Regions from separate parts of the Homo sapiens genome. Here region 1 is linked to region 2. Evidence: promoter capture Hi-C in 16 types of primary human blood cells and fetal thymus (Javierre and others, 2016). All regions are on one chromosome and are shown on one strand. Each heading gives the region's core, a stretch centred on a gene start or on the middle of the fragment in contact. The rest is flanking DNA. Distances are from core to core; before and after follow the strand shown.

Region 1 (2,700 bases), core at 27-2,526, 2.1 Mb after region 2:
TATTTATTAGGACCATTCCCAAGTCAGTTCTCTGGTGGGATCAAAGCTGTGTCCTTTCAGCCAGGGACAAAATACAGAAACAGAAAGTTCATTATAGATCCTATGGTAAACTGAATAATGGCCCTCCAAAGATGTCCACACCCTAATCCCCAGAACCTGCAAATATATTGCCTAACATGGCAAAGGGACTTTGCAGCTGTGATTAAGGCTCTTGAGATGGGAGATTATCCTGGATTGTCATAGTAGAGCCAATGTAATCACAAGGGTCCTTATAAGAGGGAGGGAGCAGAGTTGGAGAAGAGATAAGGGTGGAGGCAAGTGTCAGAAGATGCTAATGGAGGAGAGGGCCACAGACCAAGGAATGCAGGTGAATTCTAGAAGCTGGGAAGGGGAAAGAAAAGGATTATTCTTTAGAGACTCCAAAATAAGCACGGGCCTGGTGGTACATTTTATATTTCTGACCTCCAGAGCTATAAAATACATCTGAGTTGCTGTAAGCCACTAACTTTGTGGTAATTTGCTACAGCAGCAATAGGAAACTATACAGATTTCTACCTGTCCTCCTCCTAATCTGCGTTCCACACTGCTCATTTTCACTGGTGTGCAGAGTGGGACATTTCTACTTTGTTCCCCTATTTTCCCAAGTCAGGGAGATGTCCTGGTTTGTCTTGACACAAGCCTCTAACAATGTTTCTCTAACAGGGCTGTGTGACCATTGGCATTCTTTGGTGTATCCTCACAGTCCCTTAGTTTTCTTATGAGAGTTTTAAATTCTATTCAGTTCCACAGTTAGCTAAAAAAAAGTTAATGTACAATTCAAGGTACAACCCAAAAAGTTATCCTTATCCTCATAAGAATACTAAAATCATCTCATTAGAGTCAGGAATGAGACAAGCATGTTTGGCCGGGCGCGGTGGCTCACGCCTGTAATCCCAGCACTTTGGGAGGCCAAGGCGGGCGGATCATGAGGTCAGAAGATCGAGACCATCCTGGCTAACACGGTGAAACCCCATCTCTACTAAAAATACAAAAAATTAGCCGGGCGTGGTGGCGGGCACCTGTAGTCCCAGCTACTCGGAAGGCTGAGGCAGGAGAATGGCGTGAACCCGGGAGGCGGAGCTGGCAGTGAGCAGAGATCGTGCCACTGCACTCTAGCCTGGGCAACAGAGAGAGACTCCATCTCGATAAAAAAAAAAAAAAAAAAAAGACAAGCATGTTCATTAGCACCACTCTTAACATTATTCTGGGGGTACTGGCTAATGTAATTATACAAGAAAAAAGTATAAAAATGGGAAAGGAGGAGGCAAACTGGTAATTATTTGCAAATATGATTGTATACCTGAAAGTTCAAGGGAATAAACTGAAAACCTATGTAAATAATAAAAGAATTCAGTAAACACATTACACAACATTAATATATCAATAAACAGCTTATTTAGGACATACATAAATACAAAAACTTACTATAATCACAGTAACAACAGAAAAGACAAAATACCTAACAATTAAAGTAACAGGAAATAATGCAAAGTTAATGTGAAGGAAATGGAACAAAACTTGAAAAAGAAGAAAGGTATGCCATGTTGTTTTGATAGAATCTTACCACTATAGCAATGTCAAAATAAAGCCTTATGTGTTTTAAGACCACTGTTACTAACAACTTTTGTTATTAACAGATGAAATTGATGAGGGAAAGTCTTCTTTCATTTTCTTTTCATAACTTCATTCTCCACCCAGCCTGTAATATTACCTGGTCTTGTCTCGTGAGTTTCAGTAAATATGGGGATATGTACGCTTCGCACTGGCCAAAGCCAGGTCACAAGTTAAGTGAGGCCTTATCTTTGGTGGTCCAAGTCAAGCCCACCTTTGGGTTGCCTGGCCATGGCAAGAGAGAGCTCCCCAGATTTGCCGTGTGCTGGTTCTCATGACCTGCCACAGGAACCTTGAGTCCTCCTTTATCACACTCACACACACACACACACACACACACACTCAGGAACGCTCATTTCCATTTCCACAGTACGCCATCTGGACTCTCCTAGATTTTATTAACCTTGTTGATAAAATAATTCCTACACAGTAAAGGTTTCCTTCTCACTAGGATCATAGTTAAAATGGCAATTTCTATTATTTTCAACATGGCACCAGTGTATTCTTGGGCTATATACTTTTTGACATCATTTTTAAAAAAATGCCACTGCTAATTATTATTATTATTATTATTATTATTATTTTTTGTAGAGACGGAGTCTCGCTTTGTTGCCCAGGCTGGAGTGCAGTGGTGTGATCTCAGCTCACTGCAACCTCTGCCTCCTGGGTTCAAGCATTTCTCCTGCCTCAGCCTCCTGAGTAGCTGGGACTACAGGTGCACGCTGCCATGCCCAGCTAATTTCTTTTGTATTTTAGTAGAGAAGGGGTTTCACCATGTTGCCCACGCTGGTCTCAAATTCCTGAGCTCAGGCAATCCACCTGCCTTGGCCTCCCAAAGTGCTAGGATTACAGGCGTGAGCCACTGCGCCTGGCTGCCACTGCTAATTATTATTGTCAAAGGAATCTGTATATAATCAATAAGTGAGTCAGGTAATTTTTGTGTGTGTGAGAAAGGGGGAGCAGCTGCTGTTGCTACTAAAACCTTATTCATAACACTTACGTTGTGGGGTGGGTGTGGGGCAGGCAGTCAAGTGCAGCAGAAGGAATTTT
Region 2 (2,700 bases), core at 146-2,645:
GGTGCAAAACTGTTGCACCCAGATGAGCTGCAGACAAGAGCAGGGCTTTCAATGGAAATTGTAAACAAGTGGGATCATATATTGAAACATTTCTTTGAAGAATTGTAACAGGAGATCAAACATAGCTTTCTCAGTATGATTCTGGATCAAAGCAATAGTTACCAAGAGGTGCAAGTGGTCCAGTCAAATCAAAAGTAGACTGGTCAAGAGCCGAAGTCATAGCAGCAGCTTTTTGGGATGCTCAAGGTATTTTGCCTGTTGACTTTCTGGAGGGTGGAAGAGCAATAACATCCGCTTACTATAGGAGAAAGTGAAGCAAAGCTTTAGCATAAAAACACCTACGAAATCTTCACCAGAGAGTCCTTCTCCATCAGGACAATGTTCCTGCTCATTCCTCTCTTTAAATAAGGGCATTTTTCCAGGGATTTCGATGGGAAACTATCAGGTATCCATCTTACATTCCTGACCTGGCTCCTTCTGACATATTTTTGTTTTCTAATCGTGAAAAATCTGTAAATGGCACCCATTTTTCTTCAGTTAATAACGTAAAAAAGCCTGCATTTTCATGATTAAATTCCCAGAACCCTCAATTCTTTACAGATGGACTAAAGAGCCGGTATCATCACTTACCAAACTGTCTTTAACTTGATGGAGCTTACGTTGAAAAACAAAGTTTATATTTTTAAATTTTATCTTTTAATTCCATTTCCCATGAACTTTTATTCTTTTAAAAACAAACCCAAGTATTTTAATTCTACTTGCCTTTTTTACTTATTACACACTTCGGGAGATTTTTTGCCATATGGAATCACCTCATCCCTTGTCACGATTGCATAATATTCCATAGTAGGAATGTTTCATGATTTATTTCTTCATTCCCCCACTGATTTCAATTTTCTGCAACTGCAAGCATTGTTCATAATTCTGTACTGTTTGTGAGCCTATATAGGAGTATCCGTGCACAAACCTTTTTATGCATTGTGCGAGGGTTACTCTGAGATAGACACCAAGGGAACTGCTGGGTCATAAATCCAATTTTTTCAAAGTAAATCCGCTTGCGAACCCGGAACCAAGTCGATTTTTCCCGCCCCGCCAGTTCCCTGTTCAGGAGAGTGCAGCCGTGATTGGCGCGTTCACTCAGGCCAGGGGCGCCCCAGGTCTCAGGTGCTAGGAGCGCGGTGACCTACCACCCTCCGGGCACGCGTTCTGGCCACGCCTCGCGGCCCCTTTCATTGAAAGAGCCCGTAGGGATCACGTGAAAGAACACTGCAGAGTGCGTGACGTCACGACGCTCACACCAATGGGAGCCTCTGTTTATGTCGGGAGCCATCAAATAGTCATCTTCCCCCTACCATCCCCCGCCCACTCTCCGTCGCGCTGCGCTGCGTCGCTTTCAGCCTCTGGTGAAGGGCGGCGCGCTTAGGCAGGCGGTGGCGCGGCTGGAGTGCCGCGGGGAGGGCTGTGCCGGTTGCTTTCTGCAGCCGCATCTCGGCCAGCTCTCCTCGCCGTCCCCGGGGCGCTGTGCGTCTCCAGTCCGGGACCGAAGCCGCCTGCCGTAGCGGGCGGCCAGATCCGCGTCCCGCCTCAGCGGCCGGAGGACATGCGGGAGAGAGAATGAGCCAGAGGGACACGCTGGTGCATCTGTTTGCCGGAGGGTAAGGTCCTGGCGGGGCGTGCGCACTGGGGCTGAGGGTGCTGGGGCCGAAGACGCAGGCGAGGGGGGCGAGGGGGGCCGAGGGGGGTGGGGGGGTGGGGGGGCGGGAGTGAGGCCTGGGCGGGGAGCTGCCACGGGCCTGCGGGTGAGGGGAGCGACCCAGCCCGTGGGTGGTGAGGGGGGCTCCGGTTCGGGGAAGCAAGGGGGTGAGGCCCGGGCCCGAGGGCGAGAGAGTGAGGCCCGGGCAAAGAGGGTTGAGGCATGAAACCCGGGCCGGGAGTGAGGTTTTGGGCCCGCGGGGCCGGGGTGAGGCGGAGGCCGAATCCATGCGTCTGAGGAGACGCGGGCAAGAGCTGGGGTCGGCGCTTGATTACCCGGACGCCGCTGGACCTGGCCGCACGCCGCAATCTAGCAGGCGTCGGGGATCCAGGGCCGCTTTGAGGAGCCTGGCTTCGGATTTCGCGTAGGTTGCATGGCCCAAGGGGACGGGGCGGAAAGTGCGGAGGCTGAGGACAAAATGGGCGCCGGAGACTCCTTTAGCCCTCGCTCCTTGCAGCGCTCGCTTGGGCCTCTGCACGTCACTCACGCCCCACCTCGGACCTCGGGCCGCTCATTTCCGGGCTCGGCTTTGCAAGGTGGGTGGTAAGGGGGCTACGGGATCGAGCGGGGAAGGCTTTGGTATTCTCCCGTGGTTGCTGTAGGGTGTTTCTAGCCCTTGGAAAATTTCTTGCCCGAGGTTTTCCAGGTGGTGAATGGGGTGCAAAGCTTTCCAGTACCTTTGGGGTCAGATTCCTTTCGAGAAAACCACCCCTCTTGAACACCGCTTGCTTTTCTGCTGCTTAGGAGAAAGTAGGAGTGGAGAGAGGTCAGATTTTTTGAAGATAGTGTTAATAGTTACTATGTGTGTGCAAGATTAGGACTAAGCCTAAAGTCTTAGTTCCCTGATTGCCAAAATGAGTGTTAGAGCTTCCAGTTTAGCCTCCTGTTTAGATTTGCTCCTTCTAAATCATTTGGAGAATCATAGCAATTTTAAGAGTTACTTATTT

Evidence for each region. Contacts are between HindIII fragments. The CHiCAGO score rates a contact against its expected background, and 5 or more counts as called.
Region 1: a fragment that was not itself captured here is called in contact with the fragment with the promoter of SLC25A36 in region 2 in 1 of 17 cell types (naive CD4 T cells); the score reaches 5.1 in naive CD4 T cells.

Annotation. Positions count from the first base shown.
Region 1 is chr3:142,994,809-142,997,508 of GRCh38, forward strand. All of the region lies in intron 3 of PAQR9-AS1 (PAQR9 antisense RNA 1), which reads left to right. Among named protein-coding and RNA genes, the nearest start is that of U2SURP, 5.4 kb to the right of the region's middle. The HindIII fragment of the contact is 9,415 bases long and covers 1-2,700 here.
Region 2 is chr3:140,940,441-140,943,140 of GRCh38, forward strand. It overlaps SLC25A36 (solute carrier family 25 member 36), which reads left to right and starts at 1,396. Exons shown (of 7, transcript NM_001104647.3): 1 at 1,396-1,655. The coding sequence starts at 1,615. RefSeq lists enhancers at 1,370-1,739, 1,833-2,680, 2,320-2,549. The HindIII fragment of the contact is 2,098 bases long and covers 320-2,417 here.